Linked DNA regions of Homo sapiens: region 1 is linked to region 2. Evidence: promoter capture Hi-C in human tissues and cell types (Jung and others, 2019). All regions are on one chromosome and are shown on one strand. The core of a region is centred on a gene start or on the middle of the fragment in contact, and the rest is flanking DNA. Distances in the headings are between cores, read along the strand shown.

Region 1 (6,511 bases), core at 1,936-4,435, 65 kb before region 2:
TAGAGCTTGGGGGCCCAGTGTCAGTACCAAGGATGCCTGGACCCCTGCTTTTAGCAGGGGTTCTGGGGGGCCAGTTGAGGGGCTGGGGGTCTGTCCACAAACCTAGAAATGCTTGGACTGCTGTTCATGATCCTGACCACCCTTTTCAACAAATCTTGAGAGGTAAGAATTATGGATTCTGGAGGTTGGGACTATAGTTTTCCTCAATTAGAATTGATATAGTTTATGTGCAGAATAGGCTGGGTGCAGTAGGTGATGCTTTAATCTCAGCAACTTGGGAGGCCAAGGCGGGCCAATTGCTTGAATCCTGGAGTTCGAGGCCAGCCTGGACAACACAGTAAGACCCTGTCTTTCCAAAAAATGAACATACATATTGACTTGCACCTGTAGTCCCAGCTACTAGAGAGGCTACAGGGGCAAGAGGTGAGAGGATTGCTTAAGTCCAAGTGGTTGAGGCTACAGTGAGCCGCGGTCCCACCACTGCATTCTAGCCTGGGCAAGAGTGAGACTGTCTCAAATACATACATACACACACACACACACACATACACACACACACACACACACACACGTGTATAAAATAGAACAGTTCTCAGCTCATAGTTGGTGCTCAATAAATATTTGTCGAACTAATGCATGAATGAATAAATGAATGAGGTTCATAGGTGATGCTGGTCTATAAGCATTCCAAGGATGCTGGACTTTCTAAGTAATGGCAGGGGTTCCAGGGTGCTGTGATGACTGGTACTGGGCAGGGGGTGGGCCCACAGCAGCTACAAATGCCTGAACTGCTGTCCATGGTTCTGATCGTTGTTGTCCACAGCAGTTGTGTTTGGCATCTAGGATTTGGGGGGCTGTGAGGGTTTGTAAACATTGGGGATTGGGACTTTAGAACTCCTGGATCCTATATGGGGGTGCCCAGGACCTGGACTGAGAGTGTGTTCTGAAATTCAGTTAACATACTTAAAGAAGCACTTCAAATAGTGCCTGGAACACAGTAGATACTCAATATATGGTTGTTGAATGAGGAAATGGAATTATTGGCTCAGAACTGGGTTCCAAGATCCCAGAGTCTGACACTTCTGGTACACTGGGGCTTGCCCTTGAGATTCTAGGATTTTGTTTTTGACAGAGTCTTGCTCTGTCGCCCAGGCTGGAGTGCAGTGGCACAATCTCGGCTCACTCCAATCTCCACCTCCTGAGTTCAAGCGATTCTCCTGTCTCAGCCTCCCTAGATTCTGGGATTATAGGCACCTGCCACCACACCCAACTAATTTTTGTATTTTTAGTAGAGATGGGGTTTCATCATATTGGTCAGGCTGGTCTTGAACTCCTGACCTCAGATTATCCGCCTGCCTCAGCCTCCTAAAGTGCTGGGATTACGGGCATGAGCCACCGCGCCTGGCAGGACCCTGTCTCTTAAAAAAGGAAGAAGCAGCCTGTGTCGCAGGCACAAGTATGCCCGCAGGGCAGTGGTAACCCCCAGTGGGCCTGCCTGTGGGGGGTCTCTGGACAGGATAAGCCACATGGCTCATAGTGATTGTTTTCGGGGCACTCAATAGCTGCAGGGGCAGGAGTGGGGATGGAGAAAGACAGGAAGGGAAAGGTATTCACACCAGGACTCCCAGGTCTGGTTTCCAAGACCCAAGCATTTGGCCACCCCTATAGTGCAAATGTCCCTGCTCTCAGCTTCCAGGAATCCCTACCAACATCCTGTGGTCCTCACCCTCTAGAATGGAGCTCTCCAGGCAACAGACCCAGCAATCCCTGCCTCACAGAGTAAAGAAGTCTCTGTGCTAAGAAACCAGAAGTCCACTCCCCAGAACATAGAAGTCTGGCTCTGGGACAGGCGTAGTGGCTCACATCTGTAATCCCAGCATTTTGGGAGGCCAAGGTGGGAGGATCACTTGAGCTCAGGAATTAGAGACCAGCCTGGGCAACATAGGAAGACCTCATCTTTACAAAAAAAATTAAAAAATTATCTGGGCATAGTGGCACATGCCCGTGGTCCCAGATACTTGGGAAGCTGAGGAGGGAGGATGGCTTGAGCCTGGGAGGTTGAGGCTGCAGTGAGCTATGATAGTACCACTGCACTCCAGCCTTGGCAACAGAGTGATACCCTGTCTAAATAAACAACAGAGTGACATCCTGTCTAAATAAATAAATAAGTCTGGCTCTGGGACTCAGAGCGCTCACCCCAGATACTGGAGTTGTCACCACCTAGGTGTTCTAGTCTCTAGAACTTGAGAACCCAGCAGTCCCAGCCCTATAGCCAAGTTGTTCCCATGCCCAGGACCCAGAAGCCCTGGCCCCAGACCCAAAGAGCCCTGTCTCTGGGCCCTAGAATTATTTTCCCCGCACCCCCCAACTCAGCAGTCTTGCCCCCAGGACCCAGAGGCTGTCCCCTTCCAGGGACCCTACACCCTTGCCCCAGGAATCAGCCTCCAGAACTAAGGAGTGTCATTCCTAAGTCCCAGAATCCCCTTTACCCAGCAGCCTATAACCCTTTCCCTTGAAGGGTCACTCACGGCAGCCAGCCCAGAAGCTCGAGGGCTCAGTGTTGACACTGAGGCCTGACAGGGTGTACACAGACATGGAAGCACTCCCAAAGCGTAGGCAGGGAGCTGGGGAAGGGGCATATCCAGGCACGGCACTGGCCTCGAAGGGTGTAGGTGTCACACTTGGTGGCAGTGGCTAAGGGGCCCCTTTGGGGCTACAGGGACAGCACAGGGCCCCCAGTCTCCTGTGGGGACTAAGGCTTGGCTCAGGGTATCAGGTGGCTGCGGGGCCCAAATGCACGAAGACCAGTGGATCTGGACTGCCCATGTCATGGTCCTGCCTGAATGAAGTCACTGCACAGTCTGCCTTGTGTGAGTGGCAACCTTCAGCCACGTGCAGTGACGTGTGTGCTGCCGGTTGTAAAAGAGATGCAGTGTGGGCGGTTCTTGCTCCAGACCTGCCTCTGCCCATGGTTCTGAGGTGTGGAAGTACAACCATAGCCATCTGTCGCCCAGGATAACTGACAGCCCCAGCTGCTGTGGGTTCCCCTGCAGGAGTGACCAAGAGCTGGGGTCTTCAGAGGGGCTGAATTCCTGAGCATCGGGGAGGGGTGGAGGATAAGGAGGTTGAGGGGGTTGGATTCTGGGATATTGAGAGTGGGGCCTTTGCAGATCTAGGATGCCCCACCCTCGTCTACTAACCAAGAATCTTTCTTTTTCTTCTTCTTCTTCTTTTTTTTTTTTTCGAGACAGAGTCTCACCCTGCCGCCCAGGTTGGAGTGCAGTGGCACAGTCTCGGCTCACTGCAAGCTCCGTCTCCTGGGTTCACGCCATTCTCCTGTCTCAGCCTCCCCAGTAGCTGGGACTACAGGCGCCTGCCACCACGCCCCGTAATTTTTTGTATTTTTAGTAGAGACAGGGTTTCACTGTGCTAGCCAGGATGGTCTCGATCTCCTGACCTTGTGATCCGCCCACCTTGGCCTCCCAAAGTGCTGTGATTACAGGTGTGAGCCACCGTGCCCAGCTAACCAAGAATCTTTCTGTGTGTGTGTGTGTGTGTGTGTGTGTGTGTGTGTGTGTGTGTGTGTGTGTGTGTTTAAGTAGAGACGAGGTTTCGTCATGTTGCCCAGGCTGGTCTGGAACTCCTGAGCTCAAGCAGTCTGCCCACCTTGGCCTCCTAAAGTGCTGGGATTGTAGATGTGAGCCACCATGCCCAGCCTCTATCCGGGAATCTTTTTTTTTTTTTTTTTTTTTTTTGAGACAGAGTCTCGCTCTGTCTCCCAGGCTGGAATGCAGTGGCGAGATCTTGGCTCACTGCAACCTCCACCTCCCAGGTTCAAGCAATTCTGCTCTCTCAGCCTCCTGAGTAGCTGGGATTACAGGCGTGCACTACCATGCCAAGCTAATTTTTGTAGTTTTAGTAGAGACAGGGTTTCACCATGTTGGTCAGGCTGGTTTTGAACTCCTGACCTCGTGATCCGCCCGCCTTGGCCTCCCAAAGTGTTGGGATTACAGGCGTGAGCCACTGTGCCCGGCCTTCTTTTTTTTTTTTTTTAAACTGGGAGTCTTGATTTCAATATCCAGATTTGTCCTAACACAATACTTGCAAGTCCTCTTCTCAGGAATCTAGATGAGTAATCCTACCAAGGAGCCAGGTGTGCCCACCTCATCCAGTAAACAGGAGAGCCTTCAGACAGGACCCAAGGGCTTCCCCCATTACCAAGAGCCTCCACCTGTCCTTCCAGATCAAGGGGTACCTCCTTTCTCCCAGTCCATGATTTCCTTATTTTGCCTCACTTGGTGGTTTCCAGCCCACATTTCTCCTGCGTTCACTGCCCCACCCTGGTCCAAGCCCCATTGTCTCCTGCCGGGACTACTGCAGCAGCCTCCTCACTGTTGTTCCTCCAGGCCTCATTCCTTCACAAGCCCTGTAATCTGTTCTCAACTGGCAGCCACAGGGATGTTGTTAGTGTCTGATATAGTTTGGCTATTTGTCCCTGCCCAAATCTTGGCAGGGCGCAGTGGCTCACGCCTGTAATCCCAGCACTTTGGGAGGCTGAGGCAGGTGGATCACCTGAGGTCAAGAGTTCCAGACCAGCCTGGCCAACATAGTGAAACCCCGTGTCTACTAAAAACACAAAAATTATCCGAGTGTGGTGGCATGTGCCTGTAGTCCCAGGCTACTTGGGAGGCTGAGGCAGGACAATTGCTTGAACCTGGGAGGCAGAGGTTGCAGTGAGCCAAGATCTCACCACTGCACTCCAGCCTGGGCAACAGAGTGAGACTCAGTCTCAAAAAAAAAAAAAAAATTCTAAAATTCCAATTAATTGAGGAAGGAACACAGGAGTGTCAAGTCCTTGGGAAAAGAGGGATCATGTTGGTGAGAGTATAAGTCTGGAGCCCTGAGTATCTGAAGGTTCTGGATACCTGGGGTGGGGGCTACTGGATGCTGGGGAGCCTTAAGAGCACTGGGGGGCATCCTGACCCCTGAGTGGCAGGGCAAACTCCCAGGCGGTGTGGAGGCAGGTATGCAGCATCATGGCTTCACGTCTCGGGTCCTAGCTTTGCATATTTTCTGTGCTTTCCATATATTAGCTCATTTAATCCTCACTACAGCCCTATGAATCAGATCTTTTCATCATTCTCATTTCACATATGAAGAAATTGAGGCCCAGAGAGGTTAAATAATTTATCCAAGGTCACATAGATATCAAGTGCCAAACCGGAATTTGAACCCAGGCCACCATTGTTTTTCTATAGTGGTGCTGAGGGGTGGCCTAGTGTGGCAAGCCACATCTCATGAACGCAGGCCTCCATAACAACTGTTTTAGCACTGACTGTGGTTGGGTTAAATACTAAAAGCTGATAGAGGCCAGGAGCGGTGGCTCACGCCTGTAAGCCCAGCACTTTGGGAGGCTGAGGCAGGAGGATCATCTGAGGTCGGGAGTTCGAGACCAGCCTGGCCAATATAGTAAAGCCCCGTCTCTACTAAAAATACAAAAAAAATTAGCTGGGCATGGTGGTGCACACCTGTAATCCCAGCTACCTGGGAGAGTTGAATCTGGGAGGAGGAGGTTGCAGTGAGTTGAGATGGCGCCACTGTGCTCCAGCCTGGACAAGAGAGTGAGACTCCGTCTCAAAAAAGAAAAAAGAAACAAAACAAAAAACGCTGGTAGAGCCAGCGTCCATACAAAGGCTGGAATGTAACAAAAGCTCACCAAGAGTTTAGGCCAGGCCTTTCCTGGCCCTTGAGGCATGACAAGATCATGAAGGAATTCCTTTATTTTTTGTTTTTTTGAGACAGAGTTTCACTCTTGTTGCCCAGGCTGGAGTGCAATGGCGCGATCTCAGCTCACCACAACCTCCACCTCCCAGGTTCAAGCAATTCTCTTGCCTCAGCTTCCCGAGTAGCTGGGATTACAGGCATGCGCCACCATGCCCAGCTAATTTTGTATTTTTAGTAGAGATGGGATTTCTCTGTGTTGGTCAGGCTGGTCTCGAACTCCCGACCTCAGGTGATCCTCCCGCCTCAGCCTCCCAAAGTGCTGGTATTACAGGCATGAGCCACCATGCCCAGCCTCACGAAGGAATTCTTAACAGTTCCCATTTAAGATTATACAAGCTTTATTGGGGGTCTGAAGGAACTCCCCAGACCTTCACAAACAAGCTTTATTGGAGACTAAAGGAACTCCCCAAGCCTCCATAATTTAGCAGGAGACAAGATAAGGGTAATCACCCCAGCACCTGGACCCATTTAGATGAAGTAAATTTACTCATGTAAGTTTGCATTCATCTAAAGACATAAGTGATTAATTTCTTCTAATATAGCCTAGAATGTATATAAGCTCTGGAAAACGTTATAATTTTGAGTTGATCTGGGGATAATTTCCAGGCCTTCTCCCTGTAATCAGTTACAGAAATAAAAATTCTCTTCTTTCCCAGTTTATTTGTGTCTCATTATTAGGCTGTGAGAATAAGCAGCCCAACCCTCGGTTTGGTCTGGGTACACTAGT
Region 2 (5,693 bases), core at 1,270-3,769:
CAGTGAATCCATAGGGGTCTGCAGCAACCTCAATCCTTGCCTCCTCAAAAAAGAATTTGACCAAGGGACATAAGGCAGAGTGAGAAACCAAGGTAAGTTTTAGAGCAGGAGTGAAAGTTTATTATTATTATTATTATTATTATTATTATTATTATTATTATTATTATTTTGAGACTGAGTTTCGCTTTTGTTGCCCAGGCTGGAGTGCAATGGCGCAATCTCTGCTCACTGCAACCTCTGCCTCCTGGGTTCAAGCGATTCTCCTGCCTCAGGCTCCTGAGTAGCTGGAATTACAGGCACGCGCCACCACGCCAGGCTAATTTTGTATTTTTTAGTAAAGACCGAGTTTCTCCATATTGGTCAGGCTGGTCTCGAACTGCCGACCTCAGGGGATCCGCCCACCTCGGTCTTCCAAAGTGTTGGATTACAGGCGTGATCCACCGCGCTTGGCCCTTTATTATTATTATCATTATTTTGAGACAGAGTCTTGCTGTGTCGCCCAGGCTGGAGTGCAGTGGCGCGATCTCAGCTCACTGTAACCTCCACCTTCCAGGTTCAAGGTATTGTCTTGCCTCAGCCTTCTGAGTAGCTGGGACTACAGGTGCCCACCACCATGCCCAGGTAATTTTTTGTATTTTTAGTAGAGACCGGGTTTCACCATGTTGGCCAGGATGGTCTCGATCTCCTGACCTCGTGATCCGCCCGCCTCAGCCTCCCAAAGTGCTGGGATTACAGGCATAAGCCACCGTGCCCAGCCTAATTTTTAGTAGAGATGGGGTTTCACCATGCTGGCCGGGCTGGTCTTGAACTCAACCAGGCATTATTCTAATAGACCTCACAATATCCTCACAAATATCCCAGCAGCCTGGCCTCCCTGCTCCAGTCCCTGCCTCCACAGTCTGCTCCCCACCTGCGGCCGGAGGGAACCTGTGAACCCCTGAGTCAGGTCAGGGCCCTCCTGGCTCAGAGCCCTGCTCTGGTCTCTGACTGCCCCCTCGCCCACTCTGCTCCAACACATTGGGTGGCCTGGTGTGCCCGGGAGGACCTACAGGGTCTGTTCCCTCCATGCTCGCTCTAGACACAATGGGAGAGGCTTGGGTTTTTAAGGGAGGGGACTCAGCCAGGCCTGAACAGTGGTGACCGTGGGCTGAGCTGGGACCTGACCCTCCTCCAGGCTCCAAATCTCCTCTCCTCCCTTCCCCCACAGGCCACTGGGCATCTGCCCTGTGACCAGAATCCAGTTTCCCCTTTTTTCTCCTAAGCCCAGGCCCAAGGAGCGGTGGGTGTGACGTGTGGATGGGGGAGGGGGGCTTCCTGCAGCTGTCTCATCCTCCAGCACCCTAACCTCAGGTTCCTCCTTCCCCAGCCCCAGGCTCCAGCTGGGGGCTAGAAGTCCCCGTCTCCTTGGGGTGGCCTCCCTTGGGCCTTGCTCCCAGCCACTTCCTCATTCAGCAGGAGAGCCAGCCACCTGCCTCTCCCCAAGCCGCCAGCCGTGCCTCTGTGTCTGTGCCACTGCCTTACTCTCACCTTTCTCAGCTTTGCCGCTGTTTTCTCCTTCCCCATCTTTCATCTTTGTTTTTCCCCCTGACTCTTCCCTAGTCAAAAACCTGATTTTGGGTCTTGGGTTCCATTTCCACCTTGATTTGCTGTGCAGCCTTAGGCAAGCGTCTCTACCTCTCTGAACAATGGGGATGATAAGAGCATGTGCCCTAGAAGGGCATTGCGGGGACTGAATGATTTAACGCTTGGGACAGAGTGCCTGCATGTCATTAGTGCCCACATGCTGCTGGCTCTTTTAATATCCTTTAAACAGCACAAGTTTCTGATGATTAAATAATCATCATCATAGCTGATGCTTTTAAAAAGCTGACAAGGGTCAGACCCTGGTCTAGGAACTTTAATTCATTTAATCCCCACAACTCTAAAAAGTAGGTCCCATTTTACTCCCAATTTTACAGATGAAGAAACTGAGGTTGGAGCTGGGTGCGGTGGCTCACACTTGCAATCCTAGCACTTCGGGAGGCCAAGGTGGGTGGATCACCTGAGGTCAGGAGTTTGAGACCAGCTGGCCAACATGGTGAAACCCTGTCTCTACTAAAAAAAAAAGAAAAAAAAATACAAAAAATTAGCCGGGCATGGTGGCAGGCGCCTATAATCCCAGCTACTTGGGAGGCTGAGGCAGGAGAATCACTTGAACCCGGGAGGCAGAGGTTGCAGTGAGCCGAGACCGTGCCATTGCACTCAAGGTTGACCAGCCAGGAAGAGGCAGAGCTGGTTTCAATCAGCCAGAGGAAGGTCATGACACTGACCCTCCTGTTAAAACGATGTCTGACCCCTGACTGGGGACGGAGGTGAAGTTTGTGCTTCACGTACCCTTTGCCCTTCACGTCTAGTTGCTGGGGGCCTGTGGCATGGCCCCTGGGTGTCTGGGCCTGATTCTTTCTTGGGTTTTGTTTCTGTCTCTCCTCCCCTGTCTCCTCCTCCCTTCTGCCACCACCCGCCTCAGACTTCCTCCTTCACTTGCCTGGACGCTGCGCCACATCCCACCGGCCCTTACACTGTGGTGTCCAGCAGCATCCGGCTTCATGGGGGGACTTGAACCCTGCAGCAGGCTCCTGCTCCTGCCTCTCCTGCTGGCTGTAAGTGGTGAGTTAGGGGCTTCCGTGGCTGCCTCCCGGGTCCCTGGGCTCAGCTTGGGGCAGGGCAGGGAGTGGGGTGGAACGAGAGAACCAAAAGTGGGTGTTGGGATGGGAGCAGGTCCCCAACCTCCCAAAGCCTGTGGGTTTCTCCCAGAGCCCAAGCCCCCAAGTTTTGTCGTCCGCTACAAGCAGGGGAGAAGAGACATCTAAGTGTGTTGCCACAGGACAAGTTGTGCAGAAGTAACGCACATAGTCCGGTGGCCCAGACGCCAGCCCCCTGAGTCCCGCCAGACACGCTCTCCCCCTTGCTAACCTCTTGGCTGTCAGGATCCACCTTCCCTGGCTTCTAAACTTGCCTCCCCCACCCCCGTCATAACTCTGTGCCTCAGTTTACCTTCTTTTTCCTCCTCAGGTCTCCGTCCTGTCCAGGCCCAGGCCCAGAGCGGTAGGCCTAGACCCAGCAGTCCCTCTCTCTACCTCCCAGAGACCTCCCTGTCTCCGTCTCTCCCACACCCTTTCCAAACCTCCCTGCCGCTGACCCCCCTCCCCACAGTTCCCAGCACACACTGACCTCCCCTGACCCCTGTGCTGCAGATTGCAGTTGCTCTACGGTGAGCCCGGGCGTGCTGGCAGGGATCGTGATGGGAGACCTGGTGCTGACAGTGCTCATTGCCCTGGCCGTGTACTTCCTGGGCCGGCTGGTCCCTCGGGGGCGAGGGGCTGCGGAGGGTGAGTGGGGCTAGCAGGGGACATCCTGAGGACTTGCCTAGATGGGGGTGGGGGGCTGGGTAAACTCCCAGATCTCAAACATCCAAAGGGATGGTAATGGAGGTGCTGATTTGGAATGACAAAACACCCTCAACTCACCACTCTGCCTGTCTCTGCACCCCACAACACCCCTCACCTCCAGCAGCGACCCGGAAACAGCGTATCACTGAGACCGAGTCGCCTTATCAGGTGAGAAAACCAGACTGTCCTCCTCACATTTCACTCCTGCCAGGGATATCTGCCCCAGATACTCCTTCATGCCATCAGAGGGACCTCAAAGCCACTCTGCCTAAAGCACCCCCAAACCTTGAAGGCACATGGGACATCTGTCCAAAACTGGGCCGAATGATCAACCACAAGCTTATGGTCAGCTTAAAATGTGTGAAGAGGGGCTGGGCACGGTGACTCAAACCTGTAATCCCAGCACTTTGGGAGACAGAGGCGGGTGGATCACTTGAGGTCAGGAGTTCGAGACCAACATGGTGAAACCCTGTCTCTACTAAAAATACAAAATTAGCTGGGCGTGGTAACGCATGCCTGTAATCCCAGCTACTTGGGAGGCTGAGGCAGGAGAATCCTTTGACCCAGGAGGCGGAGGTTGCAGTGAGCCAAGATCACGCAATTGCACTCCAGCCTGGGCAACAAGAGGAAAACTCTGTCAAAAAAAAAAAAGCGTGAAGAGTTAAAAAGAAAAAAAAAAGGGTGGCTTTGCCTTTGTAAGTGTAAACACAGGCCTTGCCAGAAGTCAGGCCAGGAATTTTCTGGAAGAAACCCAGCCCTAGGACGACTGATTTCTGGGAGACGCTCTCAGTAGGGCAGAGAATGTCATTCAGCCCTACCTTGGTAACTCTAAAGAGAGGAGTCCTAGAATCTCTTTTTTGGGTTTGAGGACCCTTCATCCCTTTGAGAAACTAAGAAAATCTAGACTCCCAGAAAAATCTACACAAAAAATACAAAATTGTGCATATAATCTGAGAGCAGTGTAAATGTTCTTTATAATTAAAAAAAATTTTTTTTTGGCCAGGCATGGTGGCACACACCTGTAATCCCAGCACTTTGGGAGGCCAAGGTGGGTGGATCACGAGGTCAGGAGTTCAAGACCAGCCAGGCCAGGATGGTGAAACCCCATCTCTACTAAAAATACAAAAATTAGCTGGGCATGGTGTCATGCGCCTGTAATTCCAGCTTCTCAGGAGGCTGAGGCAAGAGAATCGCTTGAACCCAGGGGGCGGAGGTTGCAGTGAGCCTGGGCGACAGAGTGAGACTCCATCTCAAAAAAAAAAAAAAGACAGGGGTCTCACTATGTTGCCCCAGCTGGTCTCAAACTCCCAGTCTCAAGTGATCCTCCCGCCTCAGCCTCCGAAAATCTTGGGATTACAGGCTCAAGCAACCATGCTGGTTGAGTATTCTTGAAGCTCTTTTTTCTTTCTCTACTTTAATTTTTTTTTTTTTTTGAGATGGAGTCTCATTCTGTCACCCAGGCTGGAGTGCAATGGTGTGGTCTCAGCTCACTGCAACCTCCACCTCCCAGGTTCAAGCGATTCTCTTGCCTGAGCCTCCCGAGTAGCTGGAACTACAGGTGCATGCCACCACACCCGGCTAATTTTTGTATTTTTAGTAGAGATGGGGTTTCACTATGTTGGCCAGGCTGGTCTCAATCTCCTGACCTCGTGATCCGCCCACCTTTCCCTCCCAAAGTGCTGGGATTAGAGGTGTGAGCCACCGCGCCCGGCCTTAATTTTTTTTTTTTTTTTAAAGTAGAGATAGGTTCTCACTATGTTGCCCAGGCTGGTCTCAAACTCCTGGGCTCAAGAGATCCTGTTACCTCGGTCTCCCAAAGTGCTGGGATTATAGGCATGAGTCACCATGCCTGGCTGAAGCTCTTTTTAAAAACTATAGAGTATACAAGAGAATCTAGTCATCTATCCCCCTCTCTGTCAATGTTCCTTTTTAACCCTTTAGGGGGTCATGAGATTCTCTAAGACCTCTCCCCTGAAGAATGCACGCCCAGACTAGTCATCATATATGATTTTAGGGTTTCTGTCTGAGGCCTGCCCCTGGGGGCCACATAGATCCTCCCCCTACCCCAAGTGTGAACACTGCTGTGTGAAGTCTGATATATTGTCTGCAACCAGCTTTGCCTATTCACCTCACTTGTGGATAAAGTTTCTTTGTGAAGTCTAAGAATCTCAGGTTTGGCTCTGTGATATCCAGAAGACCGAGGGGCCCTTCCAGTTACTGGTGGCAGTGAAATTTTAGGGCAAAGCATTACCCGGATGTATTTAT

The links. The method cuts DNA at HindIII sites, captures the fragments that hold promoters and counts their contacts. A contact is called where the count stands out against the background at its distance.
Region 1: a contact is called between a fragment that was not itself captured here and the fragment with the promoter of TYROBP in region 2, in 6 of the 25 tissues and cell types used here (H1 embryonic stem cells, dorsolateral prefrontal cortex, lymphoblastoid cells and 3 more).

What each region holds. Positions count from the first base shown.
Region 1 is chr19:35,970,106-35,976,616 of GRCh38, reverse strand. No RefSeq gene overlaps it. Among named protein-coding and RNA genes, the nearest start is that of SDHAF1, 22 kb to the left of the region's middle. RefSeq lists silencers at 663-863, 2,863-3,063. The HindIII fragment of the contact is 9,546 bases long and covers 1-6,511 here.
Region 2 is chr19:35,905,121-35,910,813 of GRCh38, reverse strand. It overlaps TYROBP (transmembrane immune signaling adaptor TYROBP), which reads left to right and starts at 2,519. Exons shown (of 5, transcript NM_003332.4): 1 at 2,519-2,646; 2 at 3,052-3,084; 3 at 3,234-3,368; 4 at 3,550-3,596. The coding sequence starts at 2,586. RefSeq lists enhancers at 1,003-1,112, 1,213-1,262, 1,413-1,542 and a silencer at 3,354-3,507. The HindIII fragment of the contact is 6,909 bases long and covers 1-5,245 here.